3 separate regions of the Homo sapiens genome follow, and all the other regions are linked to region 3. Evidence: promoter capture Hi-C in 16 types of primary human blood cells and fetal thymus (Javierre and others, 2016). All regions are on one chromosome and are shown on one strand. The core of a region is centred on a gene start or on the middle of the fragment in contact, and the rest is flanking DNA. Distances in the headings are between cores, read along the strand shown.

The links. Contacts are between HindIII fragments. The CHiCAGO score rates a contact against its expected background, and 5 or more counts as called.
Region 1: a fragment that was not itself captured here is called in contact with the fragment with the promoter of TMEM132D in region 3 in 1 of 17 cell types (M2 macrophages); the score reaches 5.8 in M2 macrophages.
Region 2: a fragment that was not itself captured here is called in contact with the fragment with the promoter of TMEM132D in region 3 in 1 of 17 cell types (M2 macrophages); the score reaches 5.4 in M2 macrophages.

The regions. Positions count from the first base shown.
Region 1 is chr12:129,190,937-129,194,789 of GRCh38, forward strand. All of the region lies in intron 5 of TMEM132D (transmembrane protein 132D), which reads right to left. Among named protein-coding and RNA genes, the nearest start is that of TMEM132D-AS2, 16 kb to the right of the region's middle. The HindIII fragment of the contact is 470 bases long and covers 1,060-1,529 here.
Region 2 is chr12:129,168,215-129,171,989 of GRCh38, forward strand. All of the region lies in intron 5 of TMEM132D (transmembrane protein 132D), which reads right to left. Among named protein-coding and RNA genes, the nearest start is that of TMEM132D-AS2, 38 kb to the right of the region's middle. The HindIII fragment of the contact is 511 bases long and covers 1,665-2,175 here.
Region 3 is chr12:129,902,326-129,905,924 of GRCh38, forward strand. TMEM132D (transmembrane protein 132D) reads right to left here and starts at 1,700. Exons shown (of 9, transcript NM_133448.3): 1 at 936-1,700. The coding sequence starts at 1,014. The HindIII fragment of the contact is 8,442 bases long and covers 1-3,599 here.

The DNA of each region.
Region 1 (3,853 bases), core at 45-2,544, 710 kb before region 3:
TGCTGCCTCCGCACAAAAGGTGTAGTCTCAGGTGTGGCCTGTGGTCTCCAGCAAGCTGTTTCCCCTCCTTCCAGACCCGGCTCCAGACGCCCCCTCCGGGTCACTGCCAGTGGTGCTGATCTCTGACTCCTCAGACCTGGCTATTTCCTCTCCAAGGGACGTGGGCCTTACTTCCTGCCACAGTGCCTGAACTCTTCTTCCTTTCTGACCATCACATGACTTGCTCAGTTAGCCTATGTGGAATCTACTCAAAGCCACCTTTTCAGTGAGGTACATATGTTTATAACATATGCTATACATATATGTGTGCATACATACACATATCTTGCCGAAAAGACACAGAGAAGGGAAATAGGACACACACACACACACACACACACACACACACACTTCTACATAGGATATGGGATGTATACATGTATATTTAAAATAGGTTATGTATAAGAAATTACACATATAGAATACAGAATAGAGAGATCTATATGAAAATATCTCCCATTTTCCTTTCTATGGAGGAAACTATATATATGAAACTATTATAAAGGATATATATGAAAATAAAATATACATAAATATAGCTATATATAGGTTATATAGGAGATGAGATATATGTGGATGTATGTGTGTATCCTAGTTTTCTCCTCTGTAAAGGAAACTACATATATGATACTAATTATATAAGATATAGGAGATATATATGTATATTTATATATATCTCAGTAGGAGATTATACATATATCTCTATATCTCCTATTTTTCTTCTCTAAAGAGGAAGCTATATATATGAAACTGTATCACAGGATATAATGAACCATACACACACACAGAACACACACACACACATACACACACACACACGAAATATCTCCTGTTTTTGTCCTCCAGTTGGAAACTCATGAGGGGCAGGGACTTTTTTGTTACTGCTTAATCTCCAGCACTCTGATCAGTGGCTTGCATGTATCAGAAACTCAATAAACACTTGTTAAATTATTTATGTTTATGCCAAAGACTCTTCATTCAAATCAGTTACAAACATTTTAATTTTGAATTCTGTACGAAAGCTTCCATCATATCTTCTGAACCCTGGGTCTCTAAAGTCTGAACCTGGCCCTGTAGAAAACAAATTCACATCTAGTGGAGGCACAGTGTTCACTTCTGGTCTTCACCAGGGCCTGAGTCTTACTCTTGGCTGGACCTCGAATGGTTCCTACTACCTTGACCTGCGTCTGCACTCACTGGGGAGGTCTGGAAGAGACCCCTGGGGCCTCCATCCTGGGTGACTTGTCATGATAAATGTTGCTCAAGAATATCAGAATCCAAATAGAAGTTCTCATTTGGAATTTGGAATCCACCGATTGTCTTCCTTGACTGTAGCCATGACCTCCAAAGTAAGAAGTGTATCATCACTAGTTTTACTTAGAAGAACTTTGAGCTTGGTTTTCATCTTGATCACACACACTCATTATGTGATACTTGTTTTTCCTCTCTTCTTGGATCAAAGACCTTCCCATGAGGGGAAAGATGGCAGAAGCTTCTGTAACTGACTCTAACATTGAAATCAAGATTCTGTGGCAAATTCTTATAAGAGAAACTTTAAGGCCCTGAAAGACTAATCATGAAAAATACCCCTTTTGGATAAATATAATCTCAAATTTAGGGTTGTTCACATATTTTTGCCATTGGTGTCTCTTCTTATTAATCTTTATTCTCTTGTATCAGAGGACAGGGCTGGCTGGGTACTAATTATCTATCACTGCCTCCACTGGTGAGATTTTGTGGCACAAATGGGGGGTTTGAATTACAGCGGGTGTGTTGCACACTCAGATACATTTTAACTGTGATGTGCCTGGTGGTAGCTGGGCGCCTCGTTTTAGCACCAAAGGAGGTTCAAATCCTAAATCACTATATACAACACTACCATTCTAATGTTGGGCTTCAAAAATTATATAACAGGCCAGGCGCGGTGGCTCACGCCTGTAATCCCAACACTTTGGGAGGCCGAGGCGGGCGGATCACGAGGTCAGGAGATCGAGACCACAGTGAAACCCCATTTCTACTAAAAATACAAAAAATTAGCCGAGCGCGGTGGCAGGTGCCTGTAGTCCCAGCTACTAGGGAGGCTGAGGCAGGAGAATGGCGTGAACCCGGGAGGCGGAGCTTGCAGTGAGCCGAGATCGTGCCACTGCACTCCAGCCTGGGTGACAGAGTGAGATTCTGTCTCAAAAAAAAAAAAAAAAAAAAAGATACAACAGCTTTATGCCAATTACATGCACTCTGTATGTGATACAGTGTTTAATTGCCTGCATGTTTAGTTAGAGGTTTTAAGGTGACATATGGCATATAACTCATGCTTTAATGCAGCTGTTGCCAATATGTTTTCCTTCTTCACATAGCAATGTTTTTTTTTTGTGGTCACAGAACTGAAAGTAAATAATTCTCCATCGCAGAAATGGAGGCAAATCAGCACGTTAACCCTTACAGGCAGGTTAGAAACCCAGAAGGTGCTATGCCTGCAATTTGGGCTGCTGCCACCAGGTGGCACCATTACAAATCCCTTGACCCATAGTATCTTGCCCATCATGCTTTAGAGCATTTTGCAAATAACACATCCAAAATCGAATTTTACTAAAATAACCTATTAAACACAAAGTATGTGTGTTAAAAAGTCAATTTAACTGGAAATACCATAAAAGGGAAATGAAGGATATAATACTTTATATCTCATTGGATGTTCATCAATTTTTAATACAAAGATGGGTTTGTTGTCCATTCATTCAACAAATCATTATTTATTAAGCAACTGCTACATACCAGGCCTTCTGGTAAGTCCAGGAATATAGAAATGAGTAAGACATGTTCCCCAGTCTTGAATTCCTCCAACGCTATCAGATGTGCCCACTCATGGATAACTGAGGACTACAATGTGTGCTAAGTGTGATGAAGTCACATTTTACCTAAGAGTTAAAGTCTACAGAAAGGTAAAATTTGCCTATAGTGAAGATTTTTCTTGAACGTCTCTTAAACTGAAGCTCTTCTGACCATGTCTCTTGTTTGGACTCTAAAGCCTGACTTTTGGCATTTTGACCTTCAGGGGTTAGGAAGCAATCATTTGCAATCCTCATGGTTTGCTTTCATTACCTACCCAGTACCTGTTAAAGGAACCCTTGGTCCATGGCTCCTTGTTTTCATTTAAGCTGATAAAGAATTTCAATTTGCTGTCCCATTTTTTTCCTCTCCATGTAGAAAACAGAAAATATGGAGAAGCAATTAGGGCTGGGCCCCTCTCTTCCTAACCTCACCCCTGTTTTCTTATCTTTACATCCAGAACACTAACCCTGCAGCTATTCTCACCATAGGTTTACTCTTTTCTGAACTGGACTGACAGAGCCATCTGAATACAATCCTAAACATTACCCAACAACAGAAATCCAAATAATGCATGTTCTCACTTATAAGTGGGAGCTAAACTATAAGAACTTATGAACACAAAGAAGGAAACAACAGACCTGGGGGTCTACGTGAGGGTGGAGGGTGGGAGCAGGGAGAGGAACAGAAAAGATCACTATTTGGCACTTGACTTAATTCCTGGCTGATGAAATAATCTGTACAACAAATCTTCATGACACGAGTTTACCTACGTAACAAACCTTCACGTGTACCCCCAAACCTAAAAGTTCAATAAAAATAAAAATAAACATTATCCATTAATTCAGCTCTTGAAACTTCTGCTTATTTTTATTTGGGCCTGGAGGGAGTCTCATCCAACAACCAGGGTATATTTTCACTTTTTTATGTGAAGGTTCAGGAAAAATTCACCGTGCAGTGAGTATACAGGTGTCTCCTTATCCAAATG
Region 2 (3,775 bases), core at 670-3,169, 730 kb before region 3:
GCTATTTGGGCTCCTCAATCCATCTCCTCTTTTGGGATTTTTTTTTTACCAACAAGAGCTTTATTGATATATAATTCACATACCACACAAATTATCCTTTAAAAGTATAAAATTAAGTGATTTTTAGTATATTCTCAGAGTCATGAAACCATGACCACTATGTAATTTTTGCCACACCCAAAAGAATCCCCATACCCATTATGAGTCACTTTCATTCCTGCTCCTGCCAGCCCCTGTGGACCCCTAATTTACTTTCCGCTCTATGGATTTTCCTATTCTAGACATGTCATATACATGGAGTTATATAAGACATGCCTTTCACGTCCAGCTTCCTTCACCTAATATGACGTCCTCAAGGTCCACCTGTATTGTGGTTCCCAGAGCTGTGATGGACCCTCAAGTTCACCTCCCCCAGGGGGGTTCCACCTGGGCTCTACAGACATTTAAGGTTGGATAATTCTATGTTTCGTGGGGCTGTCCTATGAGTCATAGGCTGTGTAGTGTCATCTCTGTCCTCTACCTTCCAGATGCTGGTGGTATCTCATCTTATTTTGATGGGAACCCAAAAGGTATCCAGATATTGCCAAATGTCCCCTGGGTGGGGAATCACCCTTGGTTGAGAACCGCTGACCTAACTAACTCTCTTCTCAAACTCTACCCAACTCCCATCACCATTTAAAGAAACAAAACCCTGGAAGGCTGACTGACTTCCTGAAATCCCACAGTTAGCTAGCGGCCGATAGAGGGACTAGAGCCCTAGCTCTTGATATCTACTTTGTATCACTCTAAGAATCTACCTTTCAAATATACCTTTGCTGAAATCAGGCTGCTTTTTACCCAAATAGCATTTTCGTAAAGCCGTCTTTAAACTTCAACCCACAACCAAACCATCCAAAGAGCTTGTTAAAATGCAGATCTCCAGCCCCCAGCCCTAGAGTTTGTGATTTTGTAGGTCTGTGGTGGGGCCTAAGAACTTGCATTTCTATTAAGTTATCAGGTGATGCTGATGCAGCTGGTCTGGGGGTCCTGCTCTGAGAAGAACCATTGGAGCATTCACTCATCCTTTACTTGTCTGTGGACTGGGAGTCTCAAACACAATTATCTGCTGTGGCCAGGCAGAAAACACAACTGTGAGACATGAATGGTGTGAGGATGTTGTGGCTGGAGCTATGGCAGCCATCATGTGACAGTGAGGACTGAGTCAAAGGAATTCCTGGGAAGCCAGCCTGGCTCCCCCTGCATGGCACTGCTACATAGCTGTATCTAGGACTGGCAATCTCTGAGCTTGATGTCATGCAGAATGGATGATAACTCCTATTATTAACCACTTTTACTTGGTTGTTCTGTTATCTTCTATCTGATTGCATCTTAAATGACACATTCCCCTCTTAGCATGCAAATACAATGGGACAAGCTACTTCATCGATTTTTTTGTTTATCTCTATATTTCCATCATCAAGACGAGGGGCTGAGCAGAACTTCATCAATAAGAGGGGATTCAAGAAGCACTTAAATGAATGAATGAATTGTACTGCAGGGGCCATCTCATGCTTTGAGCATCTGTGTATAACATCTTCACATTTATTTTTATTTTTTCAAAATGCCATGTGTCTAAACACCACTTCCACTATTCTACCTTTTATTCTTTTACAAAAACACCCTTAAGCTTCTTCTAAGCAAAATATTTGCAATCCCAGTTTTGATATGTTACTTATATTTTCTAACACATTACATCAAATACACAAATGTTCTATTTCAACAAGATCTATTTAGCACCTGCAATCCTCACGCTTGCTGTGGTTCTGATCATGTCTACACTTTTCAGATGCCACACTGGACCACGGCCAGGGCTTAATTGGGTCCAGGCAGTCTGACTTCTTTGTGAATAATCGTAAAGTCTCCAACTCCCTTTCTCATCTAGAGCTGCTCCTTCCAGGTCAGGGGTGAGGCAAAGAGGAGGAGCTGTTCCCACATGCTCTTACCATATGCAAACTGTGAATAAATAAAAGATGATGAGATCTCAGGCTGGCAGCAAAGGTCCTTGGAGCAGAAAGTAATTCACCAACAGAGTTGGGGTATGAATTGCAGTGCAGAGAGCAAGCAAATAAGCCCTGAAAATATTTGTTGATACAGGCACACCTTGGAGATATTGTGGATTTGGCTCCACTGCAAGAAAGCTTATATCTCAATAAAGAGAGTTACAGGAATTTTTTGGTTTCCCAGTGCATGTAAAAGTTATGTTAACACTATACTGTAGTCTACTAAGCATGAAATTGCATTATGTCTAGAAAATAACACTCATGCCTTAATTTAAAAATATCTTATTGAGGGCCAGGCATGATGGCTCACACCTGTAATCCAGCACTTTTGTGGGCCGAGGCAGGCAGATCACTTGAGGTCAGGAGTTTGAGACTAGCCTGGCCAACATAGTAAAACCCAGTCTCTACTAAAAATACAAAAATAAGCTGAGTGTTGTGGCGCACACCTGTAGTCCCAGCTACTAGGGAGGCTGAGGCAGGAGAATTGCTTGAACCTGGGAGCCGAGATTGCACCACTGCCCTCCAGCCTGAGCGACCCAGCGAGACTCCAAGTAAAAAAAAAAAGTGTTATTGATAAAAATGCTAATGATAATCTAAGCCATTAACAAGTCATAATCTTTTTGCTGGTGGAGGGTCTTGCCTTGAGGTTGATGGCTGCTGGCTGATCAGGCTGGTGGATGCTGAAGTTTGGGGCGGCTGTGGCAAGGACTGAAAATAAGACAACAATGAGGTTTGCTGCATTGATCGACTCTTCCTTTCATGAATGACTTCTCTGTAGCATGCGATGCTGTTTGATAGCATTTTACCCACAGCAGAACTTCTTTCAAAATTGGAATCATTCCTCTCAAATCCTGCTGCTACTTAATGAACTAAACTTATCTAATATCCTAAGACCTTTGTTGTCATTTCAACGACGTTCACAGTATCTTCCCCAGGAGTAGATTCCATCTCAAGAAACCACTTTCTTTGCTCATCCATAAAAAGCAACTCTTCTTCTGTTCAAGGTTTGTCATGAGATTGTGGCCATTCAGCCCCATCTTCAGGCTCTACTTCTACTTCTAGTTCTCTTGCTGTTTCCCCCACACCTGCACTGACTTCCTGCACTGAAATCTTAAACCCCTCAAAGTCATCTAGTGGGGCTGGAAACAACTAAGTTCTTCCAAAGCCTTGTTCATGTTGATATTCTGAGGTCCTCCCATGAATCACACATGTGCTTAATGGCGAATAGGGAATCCTTTCCAGAAGGTTTGCAATTTACTTTGCTCAGGCCCATCAGAGGAATCACAGTCTCTGGCAGCTATAGCTTTACAAAATGTATTTCTTAAGTAGTAACACTTGGAAGTCAGAATTACTTTTTGCTTTGTAGGCTGCAGAGTGGATGTTGTGTTGGCAGGTGTGAAAACAAGATTCATCTCGCACATCTCCATCAGCACTCTTGGGCGATGAGGTGCATTGTCATTAAGCAGGAATATTTTGAAAGAAATCTTTTCTTCTGAGAAGTAGATCTCAACAGGTAGGCTTAAAATATTTAGTAAACCATGCTACAAACAGATACGCTGCGATACAGGCTTTGTGGTTCCATTTACAGAGCACAGGCAGAGTAGATTTAGCATAACTCTTAAGGGCCCTAGGATTTGGGGAATGCTAAATGAGCACTGGCTTCAATAAAGTTACTAGGTGCATTACTCCCTGACAAGACAGTCAGCCTGTCCTTTGGAGCTCTGAAGCCAGGCACT
Region 3 (3,599 bases), core at 450-2,949:
GAGACTGCTGAGACGCTTCACTCTCCTCCCAGTGTATCTATCTGCAGGAAAGGGGCACGGGTGGGGGAACCACACACAAGCAGCCCAGGTCAATCATGAGAAAGAATCTCCCGCACAAATCACACCATTTCTCTTCAAGGAAGAATGACTGTCCAGAGCTTCCAAACTTGCTCTTCCCATGACAGACAGGGATGCTGGCAGAAGAGAAGAGGAAACATTGAGGAATTCCTGCCTTGACACATGGCTTCAAGTCAGGGCTCCGCTGGGAAAATTCGGGTCACAACTTGTAGCTGAAACTCCACGTGCACCCTGCGGGGCCGCTGCTGCTCCCAGCACCCTACGGAAGGGTGAGCGCCAGACCCTGTGCCCAAACCTCACAGCGGCAGACCTGGAGAAACCCATCCCCCTTCTTCAGAGCCGCCCCCCAGGCTATATTTTTGGCAGCCTATAATACACAAAATAGTATTCCCATACAACAGGAGTGCTCCAAAATTATTTCCAAATAGGTCAGTGCCACCAGGGAAAGTCAATCCCAAATTCCAGAAATCTCCCTGGTCATCTCAATCCCCTCCTCCCCCGACAGCCGGCTCGGCCCTCCAGAGGCCACCTTTCCTCTCAAGGGTCCCCACGCCCTCTCCCTTTACAGAAAAGGCTTTCAGGAAACAGCCTTCCTTTCCTTTCGGCTCCTTAGTAGTCTCACCTAAGGCCTCCCACCCAAGTGCTCCAGGACAAGCACCTTCGGCCAAGGGGCGTCCGAGGAGCTTGGCTGCCGCACGAGCGCACGTTCACACGCGCGCACACACACATGCACACAAGCGCGCACACACACTTGCACACGAGCCCTCTCTCCCGGCCGCCCCCATCCTCCACACACTCCCACACACTCACTCCAGGCGAAGTTAGTCCCCGGGCCCTGGCGGCCGCGGCGTCCTCACCTTTGGAAAACAGGGCGGCCAGGCTGATGAGTACCGGCGACCAGTGGTGCCACAGCGTCCCCATCTCAGACGGGCACATCCTGGAGACCCGGAGCGCAGATCCTCCGCTCCCCGGCGCCGTCCAGGCGAACAAGAGACCGTCTCAGTCCCCTAGAGGCCCGCAGCGGGGCCGGTGGCGAGGGAGCGCCCGGCTAGGGGCCCGAGCAGCCCGGGCGCCCTGCTCCCTCTTCCCGCCAGTCCATGGCCAGGCCGGGAGGCGACGACCGCGCGGGCTCCTGAGTTGCTCTCCGGAGTCCAACACGCGCGCAGGCAAACCCCACCTCCCTCCTTCGACCCCAACAGAATTTTTTTTAAATTTTAATCCACAGGGGGTATTTCCTTTCCTGTTTACCCGAGCGAAGAGTGGCCCCCGGTGGCCCAAGGAGGGGCGCCTCCAGGCGCAGGGCTCCGGCGGCTCCAGCTGCTCCCGGGCTGGCTAGCGGGCGCTGGCGCAGGCGGCGCCGGGGTGGCGGGGCTGCGGAGCCCGGGACGCGGGCAGAGGCGGCTCGGAGCCCCCCGGGCGGGTGGCCGGGCTCGCTGGGCGGCCCGGGGCTCCCTGGCCCGCAGCCCCCATCCCAGGCCGGCCGCTGCGCCTCGGGGCTCGGGCGCGCGCGCGCTCCGGCACCCAAAGTTTGGCGGGTGCGGCTGCTCCCCGGCCGCCGCCTCGGCCCGCCCGGCCCCGGGCCCGGCTGGGGCTCGCGGGGCTCTACGCGCGCCGAGCGCACTGCAGGCTCCGGAGACGCGGGGCTCCCCCCTGCGCCCGGGGGAGGCGGGCCAGATGTGCGCGGAGGAGGGCCCGCCGGCTCGGGGACGCGGCCGAGCAACGCAGCTGCCTCCTGCCAGCAGGCGCGGGGGCTCCGCTCCGCAAGGACCGCATCCGGAACGGAACGGAGGCGATCGCCACGGTGCCCGGAGCCGGCTGGGGCTTTCGCCTTAAAAATTTGTCTGCTTTTAAAAAGCCCCACCCTTTCGGAGTGACAGCTGTGAGCCCCAATCCGCAAAGTAAATCCCACCTCCCCCTGGCCGCCCCACGCCCAGCCTCCCGGCCACCCTCCCTGCGAGCGCGGACGCGCGGTGGCGGCGGGCGAGGGCTCCCAGCGCGGGCGCACCCCGGGGACGGAGCCACCCACTCTCCCAACAGGTGTCCAGCTGGCCACCGGCCTCTCGTCGTCATCAAAACCTCAGGCCCAGGGGAGGTCCTCCAGCCCGGGGGCACCTGAGGCTCTTCGCCAGGGAGAGCGCAAGGATGGCTGGAGAAGGGCCCTCGCCCCGCCCTGCGCATCTCCCAGGGATCGCAGTGAGGAAGTCTCTGACACGCCACACTGAGGTCATGCTGGCCCCAAGCCCCTTCCCAGAGCGATCCCCCAAGTTAGTGTCCCTAGAAACATGTCGTGTGCTCCCCAGGGCTCACTGGGAAAGGAAATGGATCCATTAGGAGACAACATTGCTTTGAGAAGATAAAAGACATGATTCTCAACACCGCCCGGAATCTCCAACTAAGACATTCCCACACCAAGATCCCTAAGCACCGTCCTGTAATTTGTAGCCCAAGAACTGCTTTGCTCCACGAGAGCCTTTAAATTAACCCCATCAAAGCTCAGAGGGAAGAAAAGCATTCAGAATTTTTAAGGAATATTGTAAACCAACAAGCCCTGAATCTAATGAGGTGAATTCACCTCAGTAGATAAAAATGGGTCGTTATCATCTGACTGAGGGGGCAATGGACTTTTTTATCCTGTATGCCTGTAGTTGCAGAAATATACCAATGCTTTAAGAGTTTTTAGCTTTCAAAGTTTCAAGGAAGATCAAAAAAGCCACTGCTGTTCTACCGAAGATTGTTTTTCTGGGTTCATGTCCTTTGAGATGTGCTCTTGTCTTTTATTCTGTATCTACTTATCTGAATATATCTGTCTTTCTGTTTTTTCTTTTGTTTGTTTCTTAAACTTGTTGCCTTTTCTCTTTGTATTGCTCTCCTGTAAAATTCCTAAGAGTCGACGCTGCAAAGACCCTAAGAGATTGTCTCTTTCACTGTTTCTGAAGTTTGAACCAGCAGGAGAGTCACTGGAAAATTTGTTAGACCTGGGTTGCTGGGCCCACCCCAGAGCTATCTCGGCAGGTCAAGGTGGGACTTCCGATCTCCGTTCCTAAAAAGTTCCAGGTGATGCTGATGCTGCCGGCCTGCGGAACACGTGCTGGAACCACTGGTCCCCTTTCTCCTTCACCTGAGTGATGAGAGAGCTGAGCTTTCGTCTCTTGGACACCTTCACCTGGTCTCTGAGTGTCAAAATTGATGCCCGCACTGAATGCATAATCCAGGTTCCATCCTTAACGCTACAGTGGGTCTGAGTCTATTTGTAAATCATCTATTTGTGACACTGAGTCTATTTGTAAGACATTTCTCAGACATATTGACTAGAAACAAGTGGTCCCTGTTCTTTATTAAAAACAATCATTTTATGTTTCTCTAAATCAAATTGAGTTTTTCCCCTGAATTGCAATCATCAAATAACTTTTCTTTTTGCCATTGCAGAAGGTTTCTCTATCTGTAATGTGAAGACAAAAGGTGACTGTCAAGTTCCAGCTGCTGCCTAAAATGTTAAACGGTTTCTTCATTATGCGTAGTTG